Regions from separate parts of the Homo sapiens genome. Here all the other regions are linked to region 1. The links are contacts of gene promoters, found by promoter capture Hi-C in blood cells and fetal thymus (Javierre and others, 2016). All regions are on one chromosome and are shown on one strand. The core of a region is centred on a gene start or on the middle of the fragment in contact, and the rest is flanking DNA. Distances in the headings are between cores, read along the strand shown. Region 1 holds the start of KIF27 (kinesin family member 27). Region 2 overlaps FRMD3 (FERM domain containing 3). Region 3 has its middle 34 kb from the start of SLC28A3. Region 4 has its middle 15 kb from the start of SLC28A3. Region 5 overlaps SLC28A3 (solute carrier family 28 member 3). Region 6 overlaps FRMD3 (FERM domain containing 3). Region 7 overlaps SLC28A3 (solute carrier family 28 member 3).

Region 1 (4,098 bases), core at 1,139-3,638:
TCTAAAAATGCAACTTGGCCCTATAGTCAAATTGGGCAACCACAATCTCCACCAATCATGAGGGGAACCTTGGAAGACTAGGAAATAATCCATCACCCCAATCTGAAAAGCAAGCCCAGGACACTGGCTTTCGCATTTGATTGATACTGAGCCACTATCAGACATTCCCTTGACATCATGACTCAATACACAGGTATGTGTATAAATGAAATCTTAGAATTTTAAAAATTATGTATTATTTATTATTTTTTTGAGGTAGAGTCTCATTCTGTCACCCAGGCTGCAATGCCATGGTGCAACAACAGCTCACTGCAGCCTTGACCTCCCAGGCTCAAACCATTCTCTCACCTCCACCTCCAGAGTAACTGGAACTGCAGGCATACTCAGCCACACCTGGCTAAGTTTTGATTTTTTGTAGGGATGGGGGGTCTCATTATGTTGCCCAGGCTGGTCTCAAACTCCTGGGCTCAAGTGACCCTCCCAGTTCAGCCTCCCAAAGTGCTGAGATTACAGGTGTGAGCCACTGTGCCCAGACTGAATTTTTAAAATTTTAAATAATTCAGTTAAAAGAAAAAAAAATAAAAACTATAAATAAAATAGTCAGCTTTTTTCCCCCACCTTCATTCCTATATTTCATGAGAGAAGGAAGGGTTTTTGAAGATGCTTAGATTGTGCTACTAAAAACAGGAGGCATTAAAGCATTTAAAACTAAATTGGTAAAGTTAAATATTACCATACGACCCAGCAATTCCACTCTTACGTCCATACCTAAAAGACCTGAAAACAGGCTCGGCGCGGTGGCTCACGCCTATAATCCCAGCACTTTGGGAGGCCAAGGTGGGCGGATCACCTGAGGTCGGGAGTTCGAGCCCAGCCTGACCAACATGGTGAAACCCCGTCTCTACTAAAAATACAGAAAACTTAGCCAGGCGTGGTGGTGGCACATGCCTGTAATCCCAGCTACTCCAGAGGCTGAGGCAGGAGAATTGCTTGAACCCATGAGGCGGAGCTTGCAGTGAGTTGAGATAGCGCCACTGCACTCCAGCCTGGGCAACAGAGCGAGACTCCATCTCAAAAAAAAAAAAGGAACTGAAAACAGACATCCAAATATTGTATGTGAATGTCCATAGCAGCATGGAAACAGCCCAAATGTCCACCACCAGCTGAAGAATGGATAAACAAAATGTGGTATGTCTATATCCATACAATGGAATTTTTTCAGCCCTAAAAAGTCCTGATAGGGCCGGGCAGGGTGGCTCATGCCTGTAATCCCAGCTACTCCGGAGGCTGAGGCAGGAGAATCGCTTGAACCCATGAGGTGGAGGTTGCGTTGAGCCTAGATGGCGCCATTGCATTCCAGCCTGGGCAATAAGAGCGAAACTCCATCTAAAGGGCCGGGCGTGGTGGCTCACGCCTGTAATCCCAGCACTTTGGAAGGCCGAGGCGGGCAGATCACGAGGTCAGGAGATCAAGACCATCCTGGCTAACACAGTGAAACAAACCCCGTCTCTACTAAAAATACAAAAAATTAGCCGGGCGTGGTGGCACGCGCCTGTAATCCCAGCTACTCGGGAGGCTAAGGCAGGAGAATCGCTTGAACCCGGGAGGTGGAGGTTGCAGAGAGCCGAGATCACGCCACTGCACTCCAGCTTGGGCGACAGAGCGCGACTCGGTCTCAAAAAAAAGAAAAGAAAAAAAAGAAAAGAAGTCCTGATAGATGTTACAACATGACTGCATCTTGAAAACATTAAGCAAAAGAAGCTAGACACAAAAGGTCATATACTGAATGATTCCATCAATAAAGAAATGCCCAGAATAGGTAAAGCTATCACAGAGTCAGAAAGTAGATTAGTGGCTGGCTGGGGTTGTGGGGAGAGGGGAACCAGAAGGAATGACTGCTAACTGGTTTGGGGATTTTCTTTTGGGGTTATGAAAATGTTTCTGAACTATATACAGAGGTGATGGTTGCACAACACTGTGAATGCATTAAACGCCACTGAATTGTGAGTTTTAAGATGGTTTATGTTAGGCAAGTTTTACTCAATAAAAATAAAAATAAACTGAATTGGTAGCTAAGATATTGAAACACGGTGTGGAATCGTTCTCACTCATTTCACGAACCCGTAGAAAGATGCTTGCGCTCAGGCCTCACAGACCGGTCCCAGCGCGTTGGTGGGACACAACTCGGATTTGCAGGCAAGCCCAGGGGCCGGCCCTTTGCGGACTTCCTGGGGACGCAGGACTCCTGCGCGGCGGGCTTGGAGGCGTGGCCAGGATGGGGGCGGGGCCAGGACGCGGCATCCAGGAGAGGACGCGGCGGGAGGCGGGCTTCGCCGGTTGCCAGGAGAACTCGCGACAACAAAAGACGCGGACGGCGGCTGCGCGGTGTGGCAGAGCGAAGCTGAGGAGTCCAGCGCTCGCCGACAGGGGCCTGGGCTGTCCCGAGCCGGTCAGTGCTCGGCGGGCCTGGCGGGCGGTGCGGGGAAGTGGGGCGCCCTCCCTTCGCGGTGCCCGCCCTCCAGCCCGCCGCGCCCGCCGCTCCCGCGCCCCCAGCCGGCCGTTGGGACTAGTAGGCTCCGGCTTGGGGTCGGGGCCGCCGCGGGTGGGTAGCGGAGGGTGGGCGGTTGGGGCGCCAGCTAGGCCTATGGGGGCGTCCGAGGGGTCTGGGGTCGGGGCTGGGAGCCGGCGAGCGACTAGAGGCAGAGCGCCCCTTCCGGAGGAAGTTGGGTCAGCCCTGAGGAGCGGGTCCCGGGGAACACCGATCGACCGGAACGCGGGACCCGGCCTTTCAGAGCGCACCCTGTGTTCGTCTCGTGTCGCTGCACGGCGTGAGGTGCGACGCGAGGGCCACCACCACCGAGCGCTTTGTTTTATCGCAGGCGTCTTTTTCCCACCGTAGAGGTTGAAACTTGGGCGCATTTCCCACCGTAGAGGTTGAAACTTGGGCGCATTTCCCACCGTAGAGGTTGAAACTTGGGCGCATTTCCTACCGTAGAGGTTGAACCTTGGGCACATTCAAGCCCGAGAGCTCCCTCCCTCGGAGGCAGGTGACTATAAAGAGCAAAGCGCCCAGATTCTTTCTTTGAAACACCTTTTAAGTAACACCTTTTAAGTCTCCAGTGTTGAAAATCCTTGTTGTTTGCCCTTCTTTACTCTTTTGTCGTCTTTACGCATTTGGGGCCTTTTCTGAGCTCCGTATGCGATTTACTGTCCATCTACTGGCAAGTTTTTTATGAAAATAATTAACAAACCACACATTTAAGACAACCACTGCTTTCTGGGAAATCAAGGGTACGGGATGGCAACGGTTTTTGGAGACACTCATTCCTGACCAGTGACATGACATGAGGGATTCAATATTTCTCTTGCCTTTGCTCAGATTTCAAAAACCCGTTGAGTATACTTAAATACGACCAATCAGATTTTGCTTTTTTTTAAATCATTTATTGGCAACATAATACGTATGTTTCTGATGACTATAATTGATCAGAATCTGAAGTATAAGTGCTATGGATTGTGTAAAAACTTTATTTCTTGTATATTGATGTTTTACAAGCCCTATGTTTGTGGACCATTACTATTGTTTGTTTGTTTTGTTTTGAGACAGGGTCTCGCTCTGTTACTCAGGCTGGAGTGCAGTGGCACACTGCAGCCTCAACCTCCCGGGCTCAAGCGATCCTCCAATCTCAGCCTCCCAAGTAGCTGGGACTACAGGTGCGTCACCACAGCCTGGCACATTCTTGTATTTTTAGTAGAGACAGGGTTTCACCATGTTGCCCAGGCTGGTCTGGAACTCGTGGGCTGAAGCGATCCACCTGCCTTGGCCTCCCAAAGTGCTGGGATTACAGGTGTGAACCACTGTGCCCGGCCCCATTATTATTTTTTTTAATGCTTAGAATAAGTTTCAGTTGCCTTTATAACCAAATTCTTTATAGATATTACCATTAAAAACCCCAAGAAATGAGGCTGGGCATCGTGGCTCACATTTGTTTTGTTTTGTTTTCAGGAGGGATCCTCTCGCTTCAGCCTTCTGAGTAGCTGGGATTACAGGCGCACGCCACCATGCCTGCCTAATTTTTGTATTTTTAGTAGAGACAG
Region 2 (4,098 bases), core at 922-3,421, 450 kb after region 1:
TAGGGGCTGGAGTCCTGTGGGAGAGAAAGCTCAAATGCCAGTAGCCAGGTTGAGTTTGGGTATTCCATATACAAAGGGGGAACATCTAAGTCTTTGAGGAATATAATAATGATTGATTTTGGAGGTTAAACTGGCAGGATGCAGAAAGCGTTGGAAGGGGAAATATTGTAAGCATGGAGCCTGGGAGGTTTCGCCACAATCCTGGTGAGTGTGGCAGGGTTGGTGGCTGTAGAAGGGAAATGAAGAGGCAGATTAGAGAATAGTTTTGAAAGAACACTCGTGACTTGACTGCCTATGAGGAAAGCCTACTGGCATTTTATGCAAGTATAAATTATGTGCATTTGAGGTAGTCCAGCATAAAACTATCGAAAAAGATATTTTATATGAGAAATTTAGAAATAACCCCAAATCCTTTCTTCTCATCGGTGGCAGAGTCAACTCTCATGGCACAGGTTTTCACACTTTGAAAAATTGATCCATTCACACAAAAAGTGATTCTTTCAGTAAGAAAATCTGACTTTTCTGTTGACAGTATGCTTTATAAAGGTAGAGATATGTTCTCATGAAATAAAAGTCACCGAATGGATATTGTGCTGGCCCCTAGTGAGGAGGAGCTGGGCTGGGCTGGTGTGGCGTTCCTTTGGGTGGTGTTCTACTTTCCTGGTAGCATTATCATTGTTTCTGGCTCCAGAATGTCTCCTCTGTCACCTAGGTAAACACCAGTCAGGAAATGTCAGATCCCATGGGGTGACTGGGTGAGCCACTCACTCCCATGTATTACTAACCTTTGTTCCTGATGAGCGTTTCCTGAACTCTTTGGGGGCATGTTTCACGTGTGTGTCATAACAGATGTTCCTTGAAGAATTATGCTTGAGAAATGCTGCAGGTTTTATTTCCCTCACCCTGATCTTCTCTGCAGCTCATAGCACACATCAGCTTATTTATGGCTCTTGGGCAAGTGAGCAAACTAGTTTGACGTTGTTGACTCCAGCTTTTCCTATACTTATTTGACCATGGACCACTATTTTTGCACTATGCTTACTAAAATCTGAGCGGTGAGTTCTGGGGAAAATAGGGCTGGGAATGGAGTTTTTCCCAGTGGCATCTCTGGTAGCACCCTAGTCCCTTCAATGAATGAGCAAATGAATGTTCACGAGGCCCTTGCTCTGTGTTGTCACTATACAAGGTGATTTGCTTGTATTCTCACATTCAAACCTCAACAAGCCTCTTAGGTGGATTTAAGGATACAAGGCTCACATGAGTTAGGACACTTGCCCAAAGTTACATAGTTAGGAAATGACAGGCCCAGAGCTGGAGTCCAGATCAACTCCAAGTCCAGTGTGGGACGCCATTGCTAGCTCCCTGGTGAGAATTTTGGGTTCAGTCAGTAAAACAGCAGCCATTTCATCACAGAGGTTTCATACTTCACCACTTAAACAAATACAAATGTTTCTGTTGGTAAAATAAACCTCCCAGGTCTTCTCAGAGACCATCTAGCCCATTGTGGTCAGAAAAGAAGCTTTGAACAAGGTGAATTTGCAATGATTGGTTTTTAGCCCTTTTCCAGGGAGAGGATGAGTCCCTGTTCTTCCTGATGCTCTCTCTTCCTTTGTGTGGAGCAGTACGGGCTTTCCTGGACCTGCTCATCCAGCCTTGCCTCCCTGCATTCAGTTTCCCAAGCCGGTGTCCCACCCACCCTCACTGACCTGCAACTGTGTCCTCATGCCCTTCCCTTGTGAATGATAGCTCAAAATGGTGAAAGAGGAACTCAGTCATCTGCTGAGCATTATTGTGTAACGCTAGATATTGATATGAGAAAATGGAGCAGAGCCGTGAAGATAGTTGCCTGTTTTTCCAGTTGCCTAATGGGTTGTTAGACTCCCTGATAGACCTAGGAATTTACAAGTTGCCCAGAATGTTTCAATTTCTTTTTCCTGCTTCATCTTTTCAGTATTTGTGCCAGTTTGACCAGCAGAGCAGAAGGCCAGAGCCGTTCTCTGTGCTGTCAAATCTGTTCTGAGTGTATCATCTTGAGGGAGTACGTGTTGGTCCATCTTTTATTCTCAATTTCCTCTCACCTGTCTAGAGGCAGAGGGATGTCACCTTCTCCCCCCTAAAACTGGAGTTTTATGAGACAGAGTTAGCTGTGAGCAGTTTTCCTCTAGTACTGAGGCAGGACCATTAAATTGTTCTCTACTGCTGTTTGCTTCTATGTTTTGTTAGTAACCATTAATTAGTTTTAAAGATTTAGAAACTAAAACAGATGGGGGAAAATGCTCCAGCTTGTGTAAGATCACATTCTTCAGTCACTTTTATTGCATGTGAAGAAAAAGGAGAATCACCCTAAAGTGAAATTCACAGGTTAACTCCAAGTCTTCTTTGAATAATCCAGCCTGCAAATATTCATTTATTATTCATCTGCAATGTGCAAGGCACCATGAAACATCTTTGACATCAAAAATCATTGTACCACATCCTACCAGATTAGCTTGTGTATTCTATTCATGAATCCAGACCTTCTGATCGGGACCCTTCTGGGACATCAAAGGTCAGCCTCAGGGTTAGGCACACATTGGTGTGCAGAGGATTGGAGAGCTATCACAAGGCAAGGGGATTTTTGAGGCTGACAATTCAAATCCAGTCTCTGGCAGCAGCATAGTCCCTTAAACAAATTAACAAATAAACGTTTACTAGGCCCCCTGCCCTGTGTGCCACTCTGCAAGCTGATTTACATGTGTTCTCTCTCAAATCTCAAAACAACCCTCTGAGAGAGATCTGAGGTAACTGAGGCTCAGATAAGTTAGGGAACTTGTCTAAGCTTATATAGAAAATGGCAGGGTGAGGACTGCAGCCCAGATCAACACTAAGTTCAGCGTGTAAGCCATCGCCCCCTCTCTAATGGGAAGTTTGGGTTCAGTTCAGTAAGTGCAGTGGGGTGAGGTCCAGAACCTTCTCTGGGCTTTTCTAAATGTGCTCCAGTGGAGAGGGAACTATAGATGGAACTTCAGAGCAGCTGGAATCTGGGGCTGTGGTGCTTAGGTGTTCCCTGAGTGGTAGAACCTCTCCTTATTTAAAAAAAATTCTTTTAAATTTGCTACATCAGTTTCTTCTGGAAAACTGGGAATGGTTATGAGTTCATAGCTCCTCTCAGCCAGATTTAATGGTTTCAACACACCGGATCAACTGTACTTTAAAAAGTACAAATGCCTGGGTCCTATCCCCAGAGCTCTTCAGCCTGGGAATCTCTACTTTTATACAGCTCTAGGGAATTCAAACGTGCGTAAGAGTTTGAGAACTAGTGGACCAGCAGCTGCTCCTGCGGGCTTTCTCCCCGCCCCCCATCTTAGTTTTCTGAGATCTCTCATTGGTGAGAAGACACTGGCTGCATGAGTTTTAATTATGTATGACCACGGAGCCTTTACCTGACAATAGCCGGTTTCTAATTCCCATCTGAGCTTTGAATTCAGGCATTTCCCTCTCCTCCAGTTTAATGTGTTTTTTTTTTCTCTTTGTCTCAAATAAAAAAGGACGTTGTTGCTCTTATTTAATTCCATGTTTTCCATGAGGTGGTTCATACATCCTTATCAATGACTTTGAAAAGGTGCAATTATTTGGTCTTAAGTTTCTCCTCCACAAGTGAGTGATAGCCTCATGAATAAGAGATGACTCCTTTTTCTCACCAGGCACTTCCCTGTTGCCCCTGTACTCTCTCATTTGACTTTGACATTTTGACAATTCGAATTCTCCCTGGCAGGTGTGAAATCATGAAGTTCCTTGACCTGTAGGTATACCATCTAATGATTGTCTACGAAGCATCTGACTTTCTTAGAAGTGGCTTTGTCAGGTTTTGAGTGGATCCCTACTGGATTGCTTTTGGCATAGTTGAGCTCTGTTAGAGTGACCTGAATAGCAGACCCTCAGCAGCGAACTGCTACTTACCACTCTGGGGATAAGATTTAATTTTTGTTTGCCTCTGTCTTTGATTTGGGTGGCTTTATTTGCTTGGCGATGGACTGTCTCCAGCCAGTGTAAGTCTTCATCCCTGCTCTCGTCTGTATCTTGCCTCATTTTAGTTTAACCTCATTTGAATGCTTTACT
Region 3 (4,098 bases), core at 611-3,110, 450 kb before region 1:
GAAAATTCCTTCACTCTGGCCTCAGTTGTATTACCCACAAAACAAGGGTAATCGCTTCTTCATGGAATTCTAGGAGGGATTAAATGAGGATTCAAGGTATGTAAAGTACTCAACATTGTAATTCCTTTTCCTATCCCTAAGGAATAAGGTTTTGGTCTAAGGGCATTTAGGGACTCACCTAAGATTTTTAATGAAGAAAATGATGTGACTTGCTTTATCTAGAAAAATCATTGATTAGAAAAGTAATTTCATCAGCTATATGGAGATCGATGGAGGGAGGATAAGAGAGCCAGCTTGAGGCCCTGGGAAGAGTTCGTTGACAGCTTCTTGCAGTAGTCAAATGAGAGATAGTAAGACCTGAGGTAGTGGAATGGAAAAAGAAGGGACACATACATTTGAGAAAAACTTAAGAGGTAGATGGGACAAGTTTGGTGACTCAGAGTCAGCCTTGATTCTTGTCTCTCCTTCACAGCCCACATCTGCTCTGATAGCAGGTCTTATCTCCCCTACCACGACACAACCAGTTCTGCACTGCTCAGCCCCGGGCTCTCAGACTGTTATGATTAGCATCTAATGTTCTTCTTGCTTTCAACCCTAATCCATTCTCTACAGAGCAGCCAAAATGTTATTTAGAAATGTAAATAAAATCACATCCACTCCCCATCTCAAAATCCTCACATTGAATAAAATCAAATTCTTTAATCTGGCTTTCAGGACTTGGCTCTGATTTCCTCTCCCACCTCATTGCCAATGTTCCCCCACTTCTGTGCTCCAGCCTTTCTGTTTTTCACCAGCTAAGCTCAGGCCCACCCAAGAATGCCTGGAACTACCACTTTTCTATGCTGAGAATTCTTTCCCTGCCCTCCCATCAACCAAGCCCCTCCCTGGCCTCATCCCTTCCCCATGTCCCAAATATAGTGCTCCCCCCATAATTGCCAGCAACAGTGGTTCAACATCAGTGCAAAATAGTTGTCCATTATCTTAAGAAATTGAACACTCATGTCAATATCAGGCTTAATTGTATACCCCAAGAATTATTGCACATGTGCACAAAAAACATATTCAAGAATGTTCTTAGCATTGTTCATGATAAAAAGAACTGGAACAATTCAAATGTTCATCAGTGGAAGTTTGGATAAGTAAATGGTAGCATTGATACAATGGAATACTATACAGCAATAAAAATAAATAAACCGGCAGGGCACAGTGGCTCACACCTGTAATCCCAGCACTTTGGGAGGCCGAGGCGGGAGGATCGCCTGAGGTCAGGAATTCGAAACCAGCCTGGCCAACATGGTGAAACCCTATCTGTACTAAAAATACAAAAATTAGCTGGGCATGGTGACTGTAATCCCAGCTATTCTGGAGGCTGAGGCAGAAGAATTGCTTGAACCCAGGAGACGGAGGTTGCAGTGAGCCGAGATCGCACCACTGCACTCCAGCCTGAAGTGCAAAGCTCCATCTCAGAAAAAAATAAAAAAATAAAAATAAGTGAACCATAGCTACAAGCTTCAACATGGATGAACTGAATCTCAGGAAATAATGTTGAGGAAAAAAGTGAATTAACAAGTTTCAGAATACACATAGTATGATACTATTTTTTATAAAGTTCAAAAATAAGCAAAACAAAAAATGTATTTTCTAAGGGTACATATATGGTCATCAAATCTATAAAGGAAAGCAGAGATAACTTTCTGACAAGTTTAGGAGGTCACCTTAAGGAATGGTACCCCAAGCACCTTAAGTTGGTTACTTTCAACTGTTCCTAAATGCATGATGCAAATGCCACTTGGAATTGCACCAGCCTTCTTCTAATTCTCGATGATCAGAAAGTCCTTCCTAGACTGGGTTTCAATAATGCCCAGCACAGCTTGATACTGGATTAACAAAGTATTATCATCTCCAGGCAACCAATTTGCTGCAACTTGCCAGCATTAGCAGCATTTTAATCTATAAATAGAGATTTAGATCTCAACCGCATGAGAACAAGACTTCACAAACAAAGAACTCTGCTTTGAATCAGATGTTAGAGAACCCCTTCCTGAGGTTCCTCCCCTTCAGAACCATTTTCTTCTTCCCTTGCTGTGTGACTGTCAGAACCAATCTCAAAAAGGATTTTTCTTGGCAATGTTTGCTTTCTGTTAATTTCTCCCACAACTCTTATTAAAATATCCTTCTTTGTTGGGAGATGGGAGATGTGAACAAGCTTGAAAATTCAAAGTGCTAGTGTTAGGCATCTGAGTGCAATTCATTCACTCATCACAGTGTTATTGCCCCCTTATGATGTGTAAGGAGCTGTGTGGGGAACTAAGGAGAACACAAAGACAAACGTGACATTGTCCAATTTTTCAAAGAGTTTTTAACCCAATAGAAGGAACAGACGTGTAAATATTAATAAATTGCAATAGTACAAGGCATAATGTAACCATTCACACAGGGGCTAGGAACTTGGCTCATAGTCATTCTGTGTAAACTTGGGCACGTGACCTAATGTTTCCAGGCTTCCTTTTTTTTTTTTTTTTTCTTTTTTTTTTCTTTTGAGCTGGAGTCTCACTCTGTTGCCCAGACTGGAGTGCAGTAGTACAATCTCGGCTTACTGCAACCTCTGCCTCCTGGGTTCAAGCAATTCTCTTGCCTCAGCCTCCCAAGTAGCTAGGATTACAGACACCCACCACCACACCTGGCTAATTTTTGTATTTTTAGTACAGACAGGGTTTCACCAAGTTGGCCAGGCTGGTCTCAAACTCCTGACCTCAAGTGATCCACCTGCCTCAGCCTCCCAAAGTGCTGGGATTACAGGCGTGAGCCACCACACCCAGCCTGGGCTTCACTTTTGTTATCTAGAAAATGGAATAGGCCAAGTGCCGTGGCTCACGCCTGTAATCCCATCGCTTTGGAAGACCTAGGCAGGTGGACCACGTGAGCCCAAGTTAGAGACTAGCCTGGGCAACATGGTGAAACTCCGTCTCAACAAAAAAATAGAGAGAAAGAGAGAGAGAGAGGAGAGAGGAGACAGGAAGGAAGGGAAAGGAAGGGAAGGGAAGAGAAGAGAAGGGAAGGGAAGGGAAGGGAAGGGAAGGGAAGGGAAGGGAAGGGACTTGTCTCATATCATTAATGAGAGGAATGAATGAAACATGCATATAAGGAATATGCTACAGGACCTTACCACTCAATGATGAACCATTCCTGTCATTACAAAGTACCCTGGAAATACACTGAAGGGGCCAATTCAGAACGTCTTGTGCCTTTGAGGACAAAAGATTTTACAACACTGTAGACTTGAGTTAAGGCAACCATTTGGAGACAGTACAGGGTGGGTTAAGAGAATTCCAAAGTGCTAAAGGGTCCACTGCACCCCACGATCAATCTGTAAAGGCAGTAGAAGGCCAGAGAGGACCAAGAAGGCTGTGGGTAGGAATTCAGCCACGATTCCATAGACAAGGCATTAGCTCCTAGGTCCAGCCAGAGAGCTCAGCAAACAGTCCGCTCTGAGTAAATGCGAGCATTCTCTTTTTCTAACGAAATCCTTTCCCTCTGACCCTGTATCCCTTGTATTTGAAATAAGAGCAATCTCCAGGGCTCTGCCTGTCTCTACCCCACCTGCTCAGGCACATGATGTTAACCAGGTTCTGATTAGTAGACCATTTACCATCTTAGTATTTTATTTTAATAAATATCAATATCCTCCTCTGGTCTGGCATAAATAAATCACTGCCACCTTGTTCTTCCAGCCATATAAATTCTATTTTGCACTTTTTTTTTGAGTGACAGAGGTTAAAAAAATAGAATAAAATTATGCCTTAATTATGCTGTCAAAGTTTTCTCCAACATTTATCAGGCCTACAGGGGTGGACGAGAACCAGCATGAGGCAAGGCTATGTTTTCAAAGATTTAAAGATGCATAAAATTAATCTTTCATAAGAAACAGATGTACTGTAACTAAATAGAACGAAGAGTTTTATGAAAACGACAAACCCTAACTATAACCCACCAGCAATGCTAAGTTGAAAGCTGAGAGTGTCATGAGCAAAAATAAAGATAAATTAGGGCTACTAGGGGAAACTAAAGATCTGACATCGCCTAAAACCAGGCCAGACA
Region 4 (4,098 bases), core at 1,050-3,549, 430 kb before region 1:
AAGGATTGAGGCTCTCAGACTTGGTCGGCTCCTTTGTGATCAGCCATGCCCATTTAGACCAACAGGAGCGGCAGGCCAGGGAATCCAGATTCCTCCTTACTTCCTGTAATTAATACAAGCAGAAGAGTTATAGGAAAAACCCTGACCTTGCTGTGTCAAGTGACACATCACACATTATTACATCAGTCCTCTCTCCCAAGCTTTTGACAGCCGTTACACTTTCCTGACTCAAAACAGTCTTGGAAGGAGAAAAATAGTATTCATTTCACAGGCTGTGCACCTAAACCCCATATTTTTACTTCTCGTGAATGAAGATTGTGAAATCAAGCTTAGAGCAAATTTTCATTCAGTGGACAAATCAAAACCCAAGTTTGATTTTTGAACAATTAAACTGATATCTATTAAACCCCTACCCATGCACTAGGACTGCTGTACATGCTTGAGCTGTGTCAATGAATAAAACAAAGTTCCCGGCCTTCATGAAGCTGACAGTCTAGCAGGGAAGACAGGAAACCAATGGCATAAATGAATGCACTATAGTGTTTTACAAGGGGATGTGTGCTATGGAATCTATTCTGGAAGAATTACGATAATAAAAAATGAAAAAATTGTATTTATCCTTTATAGGATTCAGTAAACAAACATTTGTTCACTAATTCTGGGAAATAGAATCAGGGCGGGTCTCAGTTTCATTTTGATAAATTTATTTTATTTTATTTTATTTTATTTATTTATTTTTTTGAGACAGAGTCTCACTTTGTTGCCCAGGCTGGAGTGCAGTGGCGTGATCTCAGCTCACTGCAACCTCTGCTTCCCGGGTTCAAGTGATTCTCCTGCCTCAGCCTCCTGAGTAGCTGGGATTACAGGCACATGCCACTAGGCCCAGCTAATTTTTTGTATTTTTAGTAGAGACGGGGTTTCACCATATTGGCCTGGCTGGTCTCGAATTCCTAACCTTGTGATCCACCTGCCTTGGCCTCCCAAAGTGCTGGGATTACGAGCGTGAGCCACCTTGCCCGGCCTCATTTAGGTAAATTTAAGAAAAATAGGATTGGTGTATTGTCTACTGAGAATGGGAACCATCACATTTTATCTTAGCTGGATGGAGCCCCAGGGATTTAGCAGATAGTCACACTGAACAATACCTTCCTGCCCAGGTGTGCGTCACCTTTCTCCCCATAGGCCACAGATTTGAGGCCCTGCCCACTTTTCTTTCAGGTTCATGAGGAAGCCCAGTTTCGGAGCCCTTAACTGACCTCCTCAGGCCTTGAGGATGGGTTAATGATGGGAGGAGGGCCTGAAACTTTGGTCCTGATGCCTTGATGGGTCTCAAATTATCCCATGCTGTAAGTCTAGAATCCCATGGGCTGAACTGGGTGGAAGGGGGAGGTGAGCTATATAGCTATCTATGGCTATTACGACAATAGTTTGCACTTATTCAAGAAATAATAGGTGCTGGGTGCAGTGGCTCATGCCTATAATCCTAGCACTTTGGGAGGCTGAGGCAGTCGGATTGCTTGAGCCCAAGAGTTTGAGACCAGCCTGGACAATATGGTGAAACCCCCATCTCTGCAATTTTTTTAAAAAAAATTAGCTGGGTGTGGTGGGGTGCACCCGTAGTCCCAGCTACTTGGGAGGCTGAGGTGGAAGGATCACCTGAGACCAGGGAGGTCAAGGCTGCAGTGAGCCATGATTGTACCACTGCAATCCAGCCTGGGTGACAGAGTAAGAACCTTTCTAAAATAAAATAAAATAAAATAAGAAAAGGAAGAATAGGGCACTTACAATGATAATAGCTAATGTATTGAGTATTGAGTGTTTTAAGTACCCAGCCCCATTCCAACAATTGCACAAGTATTCTCGTTAGATCCTCACAAAACCCTAAGAGGCTCTGAGAGTCTGCATAAACTGCTCAAGTTCCCAATCTAGAAATAGGGGAATTAGGATTAGAACCAGGCAGTCTGACTTCAGAGCTCTTACAAAAAAAAAGAAATCAAAATATATATAGACCAAACCGAAAATGACAATATGTACTTTTTATCACCCCACATCAGAAGTTCATGATATCTGGTGGACCCATGTATAGTAAATTGTTGATTTGGATTAGTATTGGCCTGACGTGTTTTTTTCCCCCAAGACATGGTCTCACCCCATCACCCAGGCTGTACTATAGTAGCACGATCATAGCTCATTGTAATCTTGAACTCCTGGGCTCAAGCAGACCTCCCACCCCAGCCTCCCAGTTAGCTGGGACTACAGGCATGCACCACTGTGCCTGGCTATTTCTTTTTTCAGAGGCAGGGGTATCACTATGTTGCCCAGGCTGATCTCCAACTCCTGGCCTCAGGAGATCCTCCTGCCTCAGCCCTGACATCTTTATTATGCGTTTTACTGTTTCCCCTGTGGCAATATGTCATCTGCACACTGTGAATTTGGCTCCATACGACGTCCAGCACCCCATAAGCTACCCAACCAGTGATTTAATTCCAATTGATTATCCCTGCTCAAAGGATCACAAAATCATGCTTTTCAAATTCTATCATTTTTATATTTGTTGCTGGCATTGATATATAAGGTATAGCTTCTTCTTAACAACTGGGGCTATTTAGTTACCCTGAATGCAATTCCTTATGAACAATATAAATGCTTATTTTCTCCCTTTTTAGGTTTTTTTCAGAGTTTCCTTTTTTCTTTCTTTCTTTTTTTTTTCTTTTTTTCTCTTTTTGAGACAGGGTTTCACTCTATTGCCCAGGCTGGTGTGCAGTGGCACGATCTAGACTCACTGCAACCTCTGCCTCCTGGGCTCAAGCGATCCTCCCACCTCAGCCTTTCGAGTAGCTGGGATTACAGGCACACGCCACCATACCAGCTAATTTTTGTATTTTTAGTAGAGACAGGGTTTCGCCATGTTGCCCAGGCTGGTTTCTAACTGCTGGGCTCAAGCCATCTGCCTGCCGCAGCCTCCTAAAGTGCCGGGATTACTGGCGTGAGCCACTGTGCCCGGCCTAGAGTTTCCGTTTTTAAGTATCATTATAGACTCATGAATTTTTGAAGGTTTTATGTGTTTCAATCGATTATAAACATTGTTCTTTCCCAGGCCACTCCTATATCCTTTGGCTATAAACTTAGGTAGGTTTAAAAACTTCATTGTTTCTAGCACAAGAAGTCCTAGGTGTAACCTGTGGGGTTCCTTTCAGGGGGGATGGTATTTACCAGCCAGGCTTTCAGAGCTCTTAGATACCTACCCTCTGCATTGCCTCCATGCACAGCCCTATGCCCCATGCAGGAGAGCCCATGGTTCACAAAACAGTGTCCTCTATGAGGGTTGGCCTGGCAACAGGACAGTGTGGCCTGGGACAGCCTCGCTGAGGAGCTAAGATCTGAGCAAAGAGAAAGAGCCAGTCCAGGGGCCAGTCCAAATTCAAGTGAAAATGTCCTGTGGCCAGAACAGATCTGGAGGACTTGGAAGATTTGTGAGCAAAGAAGAAAGAGAACAAGATGAGGTGAGAGCCAGGCATTGAGCCACATTCCTATACTAACAAAGAACAGTGACACCAATATCTCAGTATGTACAGCTATCATAAGAGGAAGCCGATAAGTAGGATTTTTTCTTTCAGTAATTAGAATTTATATTTTGAGTGAATGAATGGGATTTACCTGGAATGATTGGTTTTGATAAGTTTTGAATCATGCTAATGAATGCTAACAAGGCAAATAAGTAAAACTAAAATTAACAGGAAAGCATACAAACTGAAAGCATATAAACCTACATAGGTTTACATAGTTTGGTGTATTTGTGATTGTGATTGTTACATTACATGTGTAGGACATAGTTCTTTTCTGTTTATAATTTTTGTTTTTGGAGACAGAGTCTTGCTCTGTCACCCAGGCTGGAGTAGAGTGGCTCAGTCTCGGCTCATTGCAAGCTCCACCTCTCGAGTTCAAGTGATTCTCCTGCCTCAGCCTCCCAAGTAGTTGGGATTACAGGCGCGCATCAACACGCCTGGCTAATTTTTGTATTTTTAGTAGAGATGGGGTTTCACCATGTTGGCCATGCTGGCCTCGAACTCCTGACATCAAGTGATCAGCCCACCTCAG
Region 5 (4,098 bases), core at 720-3,219, 410 kb before region 1:
TCAACTTGGAAGTGATTCCCTTTGTTTATTTATTGCTGTTGTTTTAAATAGAGACAGGGCTTCACTCTGTCACCCACGCTGAAGTGCAGTGGCACAATCATAGCTTATTGCAGCCTCAAACTCCTGAGCCCAGGCAATCCTTTGACCTCAGCCTCCTGAGTAGCTGGGACTACAGGCACGTGCTACCACAACTGGCTAAGTTTTTTTATTTTTTATATTTGTAGAGACAGGGTCTTGCTATGTTGCCCAGGCTGGCCTCTAGTGATCCTCCCATCTCTTCCTGGGTTTCCCAAAGTGCTGAGATTACAGGTGTGAGCCACCTCACCCAGCCTCGGGCAAGGCTTTATTTAGGTAGAAAATCTAGGAATAAAGTTAGAGCAAAAAAGAGAGTGAGTTCTCTTTGAGGCCTGTTGGTTGAAATTAAGTTGACTCCAGGCATCTTCATGAAGGGGTAGATGAAGTAGGAAGCTTGTAGCATACGTTCACCTGGAGCTCAGAAGAGGACACACATTTGGGAGCTGTTAGCATAGATATGAGCGCGGATAAGACCACTGTGAGGGAAGCCTGGGAAACAGTAGCGCTTAAGGAGTGGGGAAGTTAGAGATGTCAGAGAATGAAGCAGAGGGCCACAGGGAGAGAAAGAGCAGCAGAACCAGGAGAGGGGCGATCTGGAGAAGTCAAGGGAAAGTAGAACCACAAGTCAACAGAAAAGACTCCGAAAGGACAGAGGAGTCTATAGAGTGAGGCCACGGGTTCACTTGACTTGCCAGCTAGGAGGTTACTGGTGACGCTAGGGTTGGGGAAGGAGGAGAAGTTTGTGTTATGAGCGGGAGTTAGGCTAGGAAAAATGGTAGCAGAATGAACGCTCTTCTGGTGCAGTGGTGGTGCTAGGGAGGGGCGGGGAAGGGGAAGACCTAGGGCAGGCAAAGGCAGTTGTGGGGAGGTGTTTTTATGTTAAAAAAAAAAAAATTCGTTGTGAAATACAACATACAGAAAAATACATAAAAACAAATATACAACTTATAAGGCGAACTGTCACTCAGGTCAAGAAACAGGATATTGCCATCCCTCAGGGTCCAGCCCTACACATTTCATCACTGCTGCCTCCCTTCCCTGGGGTAAACCCAACCAGGGGTGACTACTGACCCAAATGTGGGGCAATTACTTCCTTGCTTTTCTTTATACCTTAACTTCTAATTATGAATCCCCAAGCAGTACCTTTGCCTGGTTTTGAACTTTATATAATAGAAACACAAAATGTATTCTTTGCTTATATTGAAACTTTTTTTTTGTTTTTTTGAGACAGAGTCTCGCTCTGTTGCCCAGGCTAGAGTGCAGTGGCGTGATCTTGGCTCACTGCAACCTCTGCCTCCCCAGTTCAAGCGATTCTCCTGCTTCAGCCTCCTGAGTAGCTGGGAATACAGGCATGAGCCACCAGGCCCGGCTTGTATTTTTAGTAGAGACGGGGTTTCACCCTGTTGGCCAGGCTGGTCTCAAACTCCTGACCTCACGTGATCCACCCGCCTTGGCCTCCCAAAGTGTTGGGATTACAGGCGTGAGCCACCATGCCTGGCCATCAGCTCTCTAAGATTCACATGGTGTTGCATGTAACTGCAGCTCATCCCATTTCATAATGCACAGGATTCTGCCATGTAAATATTCCACAACTTATACATTTTGCTGCTAGTGGACATTTGCGTTATTAAGTTTGGGGTTTTTGGAGCTTCTACAAACATTGCAGCTAGGGACACTGTTATCCATGCCAGGGGGAGTATCTGTAATAAATTTACTCTGGGGTTGTACTTAGGAGTGGAATTGCTAGGCCACTGGAATAAACATATACTTTCAACTTTGCTGATAGTGTCAGATTGGTTTCCTAAGTGATTTTACCAATTTGCATGCCTATCAGCAGAGTGAGTATTCCCATTTCTCATCATTATTCAGCTGACCTTTTAATGTCAACCATTCTGGTGGGTGTGTAGCAGTATGTCATTGAGTTTAATTAAAATTTTCCTGTTATTGGTTGTTAGATGCCAACTTTTTAAATATTTGCTCAACTTTCTTGCCCATTTTCTCTACTGGATTTTTTCCATTTTTATTTGAAAGAGTTCCTTAGATGTTCTGGTTACAAGCCTATGAAAGGAAATTAAATTTTGGGACCCCAAACTCATTTAACCAAAGGGAAAAGTCAAGCTGGGAACTGGGTCACGCATACCTATCTCCCCCTTTTGGTTCCTAAATAAGATGGCTACAAGATGAAAAGCTACACGCTTCCCCCATGTTTTGCCCACAAGGAAATTCCTGGTGAGCTATAAAAACTTCACCATGGCAATGTAATTGATAACTTATCTTTACAGGTGCAGTCACCCCAGATACAAATGCATATCTGATTGTTCCCCTACCCCATTTCGTCTGTATTATCTTATGTAAAATGCAGATTCTCCACATTTTTCCTTTGCCCCCTTTGTTTACATGAAAACTGTGTGCTTCTCACTATCCCGCCCTTTCTCCTTTAAATTTGGAGCCCTCAAAATCATCTCTGGAGAAAGGGATAGACCTGTCTCCCAGGCAGTTCCTTAACTTTGGCAAATAAATCTGCTAAAATGATTGAGACTTGTCTCATCATTTTCCTCGATTGACAAGCCCTTTGTCAGTTATGATTTGTAAATACCTTCTACCACTGTGAAGCCATCTTTTACTCTAATGGAATATTCTGAGGAACAAAAGTTAATTATATTGGTCCCATTTAGGAAACATTGGGACAAAAGTTAATTATATATGGTCCCATTTAGGAAACGTTGCTTCTCTTTCCTGTATCTTGTCTAAAATATCTTTTCCAACCTGCAAAATCATGAAGATTTTTTTTTCGAACAAGTGTAACTCTTTATTAAGATAAAATTGTTTTTATTAAAGAAATAGATAAAAATGATTAAGTACAATCAAATGGCTCCAAAAGCCTTACAATGAAAGCAACAGTCCTGCCAGTTGTTCTTTCCAGAGGCAAGCACTTCTCATTCTCTCAGTTTTTCCTTCTGGTAGTTACCTTCATGGGTTTTTCCAATTATTATTTTTTTAGTTTTTCAAGTGAATGCATATATTAATACATGAAATTTTTAAAAGCCTCTTCAGTTTATAATGCATCCTACCAGTCCCCTACCCTATCCCTCCTAATTCTCCAGAGCAATGACTTTTAACTCTTTTAGCAATGTCCTCTATTTTTTTCTCACATAACTACTTAGGCATTTCTTGATTGTTTTATACATTATATAGTGATTTCTTGATATGACAGATGAGGATTTAGCTCTTACACCATCACTGTCTTCACTTTTCCTCCCATATTGTCCCAAAGTAGTTACCAGATTTAGAGGCTAAGCAGTCATCACTTCATTATGACAATGTCCATATTGCTCATTGTTGAGAACAACAGGGTATTATGCTCTAAAGTCATTAGGATATTTTCTAAAAGCTTATACTTTCATTCACATTGAGGATCTCTATTCCCCCTGAAATTGAGTTTAATGTATAGTGTAAGGTAGGAGTCAAGTTTGCTTTCCACACGAACATCCACTTATTTTGGCATTATTATTTTTTAAATTTACTTTTAACACCACTCAGTGATCATCAACATTGCTTTAAAAAAGAACCTTTTCCCCACTCCACAGATATTTTGCCACGTGTCCATATTTGGGAGAGGCTTTTTGGAACAGGGCAACTGAAAGATTTTTCCAAACTCAGAGGAGATGGGGAAGAATCCAAAGAGATGGAAGTTAACAGCAACAGAGGTCAAAACAGTTCAGAATTTCTAAGAGGAAAATGCAGGAATGTTTTTTAACACATTTATTAAAAGGCATCTCTTGGAATCCCAACTCAAGTTTCCTCCTCCCTGTGAATAAGCAATCAATCTTACCACAGCTGCTCTCAGAGGCACAGAACCCAAGCTTGCTCTGAAGTTAGTTGGGTGGAACTCACTTACGAAAGTCTTGGGAGAGGACTAGGCTGGGGAAATGGGCCTCACTCTGCACAAACACACAGGAAAGGCTGAGTTACTCCATGAGTAAGCCAGTCAAGCAGGTTTGGAGAGTTTGTTAAATGGAGTTT
Region 6 (4,098 bases), core at 418-2,917, 400 kb after region 1:
TTGTGAGCTCTGGAATTCTTTCCAATAGTACTTGATCGTTTTTCCTTTGTTAGGCAACTCTCACCTGAACCAGAGCTGGTCTCTATTTTCTTCTACAAATGGGGCAGCCACACCAGGGTTGTCAGTGGAAAAGCACTTTTCTGTCCTTAATCTTCATGTCCTAGCTTGGACTTGCAAATGAAAAAGACCTCTTTCAGTTTTCAAGTTCTGAGTGTCAAAGCATACGATTTTCTTTCTAGGGAAGTTGCCCTTTGAGACAGTGTCAGGAGCATTAAGTAGATAATACATTTTAAAATCCTATCAACATGCTACAAAATTAAACATGTTATATGAGGAGCAGCTTTGCAAGTTATGCTGCAATAATTTATCTTTATTTAGTATTTATTTATATCTCAGATACCTCTTGTGGCAAATTTTGTTTTGTATATAGTTTTCAGGGGGTTATTGTGAAAATTAAAATAATTCAAGTTCTACAAAATTGCTCAAACAACAATAATCTAATATTAATAATGCAATGACCTGAATCTTAAATGTACAATAGAGTTTTATCTGAATATATCTATGTTTTATGCTAACGTTTGAAATATGATTATTCTGTAGCAGGGGAAAGCAATTAACGTGTTAACAGATCAGGGTATGGCTTATAATCTCTCACCTCAGAAGTATAATTTGTTGCTTTAAAACTCTAGTCCGTGATGCTAAACGTTAATCTGGAAAGTCAAGATTAACCAAACCAAGGTCTTTACACGTAAACTGAGAATTCAAACACAATATTATTTACTAATGAATATAATGATAAAAATCAAGCAGTCTTTAAAAAATCAGTAACTAATTAGCCTTATTAATAGAAGAGAGGACAAACACCTAATTAACTAGTTGGCTAATAATTCTTCCTTGATGTTTCTAGCTAATGTTATTTTTTGGCCGGTCGATACACATATTACTGTCCATTGTTCTGAAAATAATAATGCTAGTCTTTGTCATCTGTACCTTGTGTAGGTATTGTCTACAATGTTATGATAAGTGGAGTATTTATTGGTTCTTTGTTTAGCAGCAAGCTTTCTATATACTTATAGTCCTCTTGATATCCTCGAGTATAATAATGATAATATGTATTAATTGATTAAATTGAGGTTGATTTAAACAGAGATGTTATAGGATTGGTCCAATGTCTCATATTTAGCAAGATTAGGATGGGGTATTGTGTCTTGTATTTTAGGTTTGCTCTTATTACACTAAATACCACCATTATTTTGTTTTTGAATGTTCTCAGTAGTCTAAATGATATAATTTCTTTCCACTGACAACTTTTTTAATAGCTCAAGAGAAAAGCCATACACAGATCACACCTCTGGGTAGAAAAAGCACATTGATGTCTTGGAACTGTCATCCAAGGACACAGTCTAAATTCTTTCCATGTCTACTTTCTTTTTGTAACCTGTGGCTGAATGTACATCCAAATAAAATTGCAATCAACTTACCATGGTTATATGAGTATTTTGTCATCTAACATAAGTAGACAATTGAAAACTACCTCCCCTTTCCTTTTACATGTTTGGCATGGTACAAATATTGCTTGTAGTTTGAAATTTCAAATTAGCTCCCCAGAAGTTGTAAAAAGAGAAAAAGGAAGGGTAATGCTAATGAAATTTTCTATCTGCCCTTTAATGTAATTTACCTTGTAGTTTTGAGATTGACTCTGAAAGTCAAAATCTAGCAATGCAGAGCATGGTATTTAGAGGACTTTTAGAAAAATAGGAAAACAATGTATTACTATTATTTTTGCTTAGGCACTAGCCACTGCCATGTCAGGCTCTCTCTGTTTTGAAGGCTTAGGCAGAAGAGTAATAAACTCTGTGGAGTAGGGATGGAAAATACACTTCAGGTTATTTTATGCCACCTGGAACCTTATCAAGGATATCTTCACCTCCTGTGTTCCCAAACCTCAGGGGAGAAGTATTTCTGCTGAGGGTCATCCTGACACAAGGGGGCACCTTGAGTGACACCTTTTGCCTCCAAGTTTGAAGACATAGTTTTTCCACCATGTATAGATGGCACTTTCTTGGTTCAGTGCTGATTAAAAGGAAAAAAAAGAGGAAAAGTTATACAGTAATTCAAAGGCAGCTGTGAAGCCTGAGTTTGCAGTGCCAGCAGCAGTGTGGTAATTTGAGAATAGTAAGTTAGACAGACAAAGCAGATTTTAATCATATGCCACAGAGAGGAAGGTGGTTTAGGTTTATCTCCAAATTGTACCTCCATAGAGAAAGGGAAGCTTTTAATGCGATTATTCAACATATATTGTTAAAGATTACTTTTTTCCTTTCCCCAACCTTTCTTTAGTGTGTTTACTGGGTTAGAAATGGCAGCCTTTTTTTCTCTCTTAGTGTATTGAGCAGTTGTTAAATATAAAATATAAAACATTTTCTTGGTGTTATGGGAAATGCAGAGAGAGATAGAGAGGGAGAGATTGTGAGATTCTAGTCTGAAGACAGAGCTGAAGACTTAAGAAAATATTTTCATCCATCTATCTATCTATCTATTCATCCATCTAACTATCCATTAATTCATTCATCATTTATCCACTCTTCCACTCACCCACCAACCCACCCATCCACTCATCCACTCTTCCATCCACTCATCCGTAAATCTATCCATCCGTCCGTCCGTCCATCCATCCATCCATCCATCCATCCATCCATCCATCCATCCTCCATCCATTCACCAAACAAACATTTATTGAATACCTCTGTTGGGGACTGCTGTGAGTAGCAGAGATACAAAAAGACAAATAATAATTAATCCTTGCCAATCTAGTAGAAAAGACAGACAGACACATAAACAGATTCAGCATAGCACTATTGTGATAGAAAAATACTAGGATGTTATTGGAGCTCATAAAGGGGCCAATAGTAGAGCCAGAGTGTGGCTTGGGGGAAGGCATAACCTTTCTTTAACCTCTAGTGGCTCTCCTCCAATGTTACTACTTTAAAAAATATATCGGGCTGGGCGCGGTGGCTCACGCCTGTAATCCCAGCGCTTTGGGAGGCCGAGGCGGGCAGATTAAGAGGTCAGGAGATCGAGATCATCCTGGCTAGCACCGTGAAACCCCGTCTCTACTAAAAATACAAAAAATTAGCCGGGCGGGGTGGCGGGCGCCTGTAGTCCCAGCTACTCGGGAGGCTGAGGCAGGAGAATGGTGTGAACCTGGGAGGCGGAGCTTGCAGTGAGCCGAGATCGCTACACTGCACTCCAGCCTAGGCGACAGAACAAGACTCCATCTCAAAAAAAAAAAAAAATTATATATATATATATAAAATTTGTGGTTTATTTCTTTCTCCTTATTTATTTTTATTGCAGTAAAAAATGTATGTAACAGAATTTACCATGTTAGCCATTAAAAAAAATCTTTTTCTTTTGCAGTGCCTGTGCCTCGCACAGCTCTGGGACAGGCACAGCTCCCTGCCCCCCCAGCCGCTGAAGGCTTCTCTACGCCCCTGTTCTGGCCTCCGCGAGCAGAGGAGCTTGAGGCGGGCAAAGCTTAAGGCGACACCATGTTAGCCATTTTTAAGTGTGCAGTTTAGTGGCATTAAGTAAATCACATTGTTGTGCAACCGTAATCACCTTCCAAAGTTACTACTTATAAAAGAGATATTCTTTGAAATGGATTACTGATATTTTGTCACTCACATTTCAAGTGTGAATAAGAGAATCTTTAAAAGCTTTGTTCTTTTTCTTGCAAATGTCTCAGCCAAAATTGTATCTTGCTATAAAATGTGATTTCAAGAGACGTCCCACACCCCCTTCCTTGGTTCCTACTAGACGTTCACCCTCAGCGTGTCTCCTGTATAGATATGCTGGAGCAGCCACTGAGGGGCCCTAATCCAGCCTGGGAAGGGCCAAGAAGATTTTCTGGAGTAGATGATACCTGAGATGAGCTATAAGGAAAATGTAGACATTGTCTGGCTAATAAATGGGGAAATGTGTTGAGAAAAGGTGCAGTTAGGGAAAGAAGGACATTCTAGCAAAGGTTGAGCATAGAGGAAGACATAACATTTATGAGGAACTGAAAGAAATGCATTATACTTTTCTAAATCAAGA
Region 7 (4,098 bases), core at 578-3,077, 370 kb before region 1:
AATTGTTATGCTCTTGTCTAAACTAAAAAGCAAGGAGAGAGAATGCAACAGGAAGTCCTCATCCACCATCTCTAGTTGAAAGGCCAGTACAAAAGTGGAACCAAAAACCACGTTCATTTCAATTAAGTAAAAAAGACCAAACCTCAAATACATCCTGCTACATATGGGTGACCTTTGACAAAACAACTAAACTGTTCTGTGCTTTGGTTTCCTCTTTAATAAAATGAGTATAATTACATAGGACCTCTCTCAAAGAGTTATTGTAAGAATTAATTGCATTTTCTGGACTGTCAAGGGCTTAACACAGTGCCTGGAATGCAGTAAAGCCTTCCATAAGCATGTTAGCAATTGTCATTTATTACTTGTATACAATAGACCTATAGAAATTGATTTGTATAATGTTCAAAGTATACGCAATGACTCAGACTTACTACTCCAATAAGAGGATTTGCTTGGCCTGCTCTAGGGGCTCAATAAGTTAAACTTACCTTTAGCTCCATCATTAGCTTGCTGACAAATGTTGAAGCCCTCAATATTTTACACCAGTTTAAGGATTTTAATCCCTACTTTGAAGTTTTGGGTATACAAAAAGTTCTTTGCTGACTTTGTCCCTTTCTTCCTTTTAGGTTGGATGGATCATGCTAGTTACTACGGGATCATCTCCTATTGAATCTGTAGTTGCTTCTGGCAATATATTTGTTGGACAAGTAAGTTGTAATATCAACAGAACAAAACATCTGTTGAAATGGATCGTCTCTTTCCAAAAAGCCAAATAAGAAAATAACACAATGTTCTTTTAGTGTAGAGAAAATGGTGTCAAAATAAGAAACCCCCAGTATTGGCAATGTCCGGATTCCAGGGGGAGAAGAGAGAGAGACAGAGAGAGAGAGAGAGAGAGACAGAGAGAGAGACAGAGAGACAGAGAGACACAGAGAGAAATTCCTTTTAACAGTCTGGGTATGGTATGTAGAATTGGGTTCTTGAGAATGTTTATGAAGAGGATGGAAGGTTGTCATTTTATTAAGGCATAGACATAGAGCTTCTCATATAGATTCTCAATAAATCTGAATTTAGTGATTGTGAGGTTTCTGGTCAACTCTTCAGAGGCTGGTAGCTCTTCCACTTGAATGGATTTCACTATCTCGAAATCTCCAAGCTACAAACAGCCTCCCATTCTAAACTATAATGCCTGTGGCAATGGAGGAGACCAAGAAAGCCTTTCCACCAACAACCATGCAACTGCGTAAATACTTGAGCTTATTCTCAACTTGTCTGAACTGGCCAATATTCTGTCTTTGCTGAGCCTGAAGAAAAATGCTTTTAGGTTTTTCTCTTCTCATCAAAAATAAGCTTTTAGACTTCAATTTTCACCTCCCTGTTCCATCACATGGAGAAACGCTCTTTTGCCTGAAGCCCATTTAAGCAAATAAATATCATGCCAAGGAGTGTCCCTCAAAATAGCAGCATGGCTAAGGGGTGGATCAGTAAGAAATTGTAATAAGCCCCTCATCACTCCAGATATGCAGCTTCAGGCAGAATGGAGTCACACGCCACGAAAACCAGGTATGAACGCTTGCCAGCACCACTGCCCAAGGAAACTGAATTTGAAGCAAAAATCAAGTCACTCAGAAAAACACATAGCCCCAAATCCCAGGCTTACAACTGCTCCTGGCAGGCTGAAACTTCTTGTTGGTAAGCCAACAAGAAGCACGGGCCTCTACTCTAAAGACTATGCTTACGGCTGGGCGCAGTGGCTCACGCCTGTAATCCCAACACCTTGGGAGGCCAAGGCGGGCAGATCACCTGAGGTCGGGAGTTTGAGACCAGCCTGACCAACACGGAGAAACCCCGTCTCTACTAAAAACACAAAATTAGCTGGGCATGGTGGCGTATGCCTGGAATCCCAGCTACTCAGGAGGCTGAGGCAGGAGAATTGCTTGAACCCAGGAGGTGGAGGTTGCAGTGAGCCGAGATCATGCCATTGCACTCCAGCCTGGGCAACAAGAGCAAAACTCTGTCTCAAAAAAGAAAAAAAACCTATGCTTACTAGCCTGGAGCATAGTCTTTAGAGTGGGGGCCCATCCCATGCTTCCTTCCCTAGGAGTTGAAATTATTATAATTACAGTCATAAAATCTCTCAGGACTAATTAGGGCACCATCTTGAGTTGATTGCTCCTACCTGTGGGGTAAGAGGGCTCCCGCACAGGGTTCCTATTTAGTCGGTAAATCGAGGCTCCACACATTCAATCTTACAGAACAATTAGAGATAATAAGGAGAAAATTGTAAAATTGCACACAAGCTTCTGTGATGTTCAATTTGATACTTAATATGCTAAAAGTACAGCTATTATCTATGGAGAGCCCCATGCCGCAGGCTGCCTGTCCTCCTTAATGGGATTCAAGCCTTTACAACTACACTCTGTCTGCTTCTTCCTTTCCACCCATCAGAGAGGGGTCTCTGATTCTCAATTACAGAAGGGCCTGCGGGCACCTGTTCTTGTTATTGCTGAGGTTGTTTGTTTGTTTGTTTGTTTGTTTGTTTTTAATGCTTGTGTCTATTTCTCTGAGGTCAGGAAACAGGTTTAGGGTCTGTCAAGGTGAAGTTGGAAGACAGGAAGCCACAGTGGCTTAGAAATCACCCATCCAGAAGGTTAGGCCACTGCATAGAGTCAGTTGGCCCTTAGAAAAGTGCACCAAGACATCACAGAGTCCAGTCCTAGGCTGGGTGGAGGCCTTCTATGTCTAGCCTCACGAATTTTACAAAATTTATACATGACCACATATGGAAACTGATCTAGAGTTCAAATAACCCAGACGTCGATGGTGTGGGTTCTCAAATTTGAGCATGCATTGGAATCACCCGGAAAGCTTGTGAAAATACAGATTGGTAGCCCCCACCCTTGGAGTTTCTAATTTAGTAAATCGAAATAATTTGCATTTCTAACGAGTTTCCAGGTGACGCTGATGGAGCTGGTCTGAGGTTCACTCTTAGAAACTGTCTGCTTTAAAGAATAAAATTGTGAGTAGATTGGCATGCCTTCCCCTGCCCCCACACAGATTTAAAAAGGAATCTGGTCACCCTTCTTTGTCTCCAGACGGAGTCTCCACTGCTGGTCCGACCATATTTACCTTACATCACCAAGTCTGAACTCCACGCCATCATGACCGCCGGGTTCTCTACCATTGCTGGAAGCGTGCTAGGTGCATACATTTCTTTTGGGGTAAGAATGTTTTGGAATTATGAAAACACCAACCTCTTCTTTCTTTATTATTGTTATTTCTTTTCTTTTCCATTGCTGGTGGAAAAAGGAGGCCAAGAGAGTGTCTTTTTTTGCCATATGGCAAAAGTTGGTCACAGTTGCTTTGGCATTTGAACATAGGGATCCCAAGGAGTTTCAGGGCTTCATATACCTGCTGCCTAAATGTGAGTTCTATCTGCAGAATAAAAACAGAAAAATGCAATCATATGATAAAGTTGCTTTGGTTGAAAATTTAAATCTGTTAAAAAAAAAATTATTACATCAGTCAAGGTGATCTGGACTGGGAGTCAGTAAACTATGGCCCATGGGCCAAATCCCAATTGCTCCTGTTTTTGGAAATGAATTATTGGAAAGCAACTACTTCTATTCATTTGTCTCTGGCAGCTTTCATGCTACAGAGTTGAGTCGTTGTGATCCACAAAGACAACAATATTTATTCTCTGGCCCTTTACAGAAAAACTTTTCTGACCCCTGGTCTAGAGCAGTGATTCTCAAACCTTTCTGCACGTTAGAATCACCTGGGAGCTTTTAAATTCTCTAATGCCCAGGTCCATATCTCAGAGTAATTAAACTACAGTTCCTTGGGATGAGACCCAGCCATCAATATTTTTTAAAACTCTCAGATTCTAATGTACAGCCAAGTTTGAGAGTTGGCAGTCTGTAGTATAAGGCTAGAGAATGTTATAACTGGTGCGTGCACCCCGACCCATAGAGCTTACAAGCCACACATAGACACAGTCCCCAATATTGAAACTGAGTAACACAGCCCAGTCACTGTGTGACTCAGGAGACTAGGATTTCTTACAAAATAAGTGGGCTTCATTGTAGGTCTTCATCC

The links. Contacts are between HindIII fragments. The CHiCAGO score rates a contact against its expected background, and 5 or more counts as called.
Region 2: a fragment that was not itself captured here is called in contact with the fragment with the promoter of KIF27 in region 1 in 2 of 17 cell types (monocytes and neutrophils); the score reaches 5.9 in monocytes.
Region 3: a fragment that was not itself captured here is called in contact with the fragment with the promoter of KIF27 in region 1 in 6 of 17 cell types (monocytes, M2 macrophages, neutrophils and 3 more); the score reaches 18.2 in monocytes.
Region 4: a contact is called between a fragment that was not itself captured here and the fragment with the promoter of KIF27 in region 1, in 2 of 17 cell types (M0 macrophages and M2 macrophages). The highest score is 6.1, in M0 macrophages.
Region 5: a contact is called between a fragment that was not itself captured here and the fragment with the promoter of KIF27 in region 1, in 2 of 17 cell types (neutrophils and monocytes). The highest score is 8.7, in neutrophils.
Region 6: a fragment that was not itself captured here is called in contact with the fragment with the promoter of KIF27 in region 1 in 2 of 17 cell types (monocytes and neutrophils); the score reaches 8.7 in monocytes.
Region 7: a contact is called between a fragment that was not itself captured here and the fragment with the promoter of KIF27 in region 1, in 16 of 17 cell types (non-activated CD4 T cells, monocytes, naive CD4 T cells and 13 more). The highest score is 13.9, in non-activated CD4 T cells.

Annotation. Positions count from the first base shown.
Region 1 is chr9:83,919,722-83,923,819 of GRCh38, reverse strand. KIF27 (kinesin family member 27) reads left to right here and starts at 2,388. Exons shown (of 18, transcript NM_017576.4): 1 at 2,388-2,449. LOC105376335 (serine/arginine repetitive matrix protein 1-like) reads right to left here and starts at 2,919. Exons shown (of 3, transcript XM_011519284.2): 1 at 2,559-2,919; 2 at 2,122-2,466. The coding sequence starts at 2,919. RefSeq lists enhancers at 988-1,492, 2,107-2,856 and silencers at 2,226-2,375, 2,406-2,785. The HindIII fragment of the contact is 5,103 bases long and covers 1-4,098 here.
Region 2 is chr9:83,469,094-83,473,191 of GRCh38, reverse strand. All of the region lies in intron 1 of FRMD3 (FERM domain containing 3), which reads left to right. Among named protein-coding and RNA genes, the nearest start is that of FRMD3, 67 kb to the left of the region's middle. The HindIII fragment of the contact is 1,299 bases long and covers 1,522-2,820 here.
Region 3 is chr9:84,372,544-84,376,641 of GRCh38, reverse strand. No RefSeq gene overlaps it. Among named protein-coding and RNA genes, the nearest start is that of SLC28A3, 34 kb to the right of the region's middle. RefSeq lists an enhancer at 1-211. The HindIII fragment of the contact is 697 bases long and covers 1,512-2,208 here.
Region 4 is chr9:84,353,474-84,357,571 of GRCh38, reverse strand. It overlaps a transcript of SLC28A3 not described here. Among named protein-coding and RNA genes, the nearest start is that of SLC28A3, 15 kb to the right of the region's middle. RefSeq lists an enhancer at 932-1,522. The HindIII fragment of the contact is 3,937 bases long and covers 331-4,098 here.
Region 5 is chr9:84,331,500-84,335,597 of GRCh38, reverse strand. The region is part of intron 1 of SLC28A3 (solute carrier family 28 member 3); the gene reads left to right. Among named protein-coding and RNA genes, the nearest start is that of SLC28A3, 7.2 kb to the left of the region's middle. The HindIII fragment of the contact is 2,998 bases long and covers 471-3,468 here.
Region 6 is chr9:83,521,765-83,525,862 of GRCh38, reverse strand. The region is part of intron 1 of FRMD3 (FERM domain containing 3); the gene reads left to right. Among named protein-coding and RNA genes, the nearest start is that of FRMD3, 15 kb to the left of the region's middle. The HindIII fragment of the contact is 1,214 bases long and covers 1,061-2,274 here.
Region 7 is chr9:84,289,277-84,293,374 of GRCh38, reverse strand. SLC28A3 (solute carrier family 28 member 3) reads left to right here. Exons shown (of 18, transcript NM_001199633.2): 10 at 627-707; 11 at 3,096-3,221. It overlaps SLC28A3-AS1 (SLC28A3 regulatory antisense RNA 1), which reads right to left. Exons shown (of 2, transcript XR_001746802.1): 2 at 3,239-3,435. Among named protein-coding and RNA genes, the nearest start is that of SLC28A3-AS1, 13 kb to the right of the region's middle. The HindIII fragment of the contact is 950 bases long and covers 1,353-2,302 here.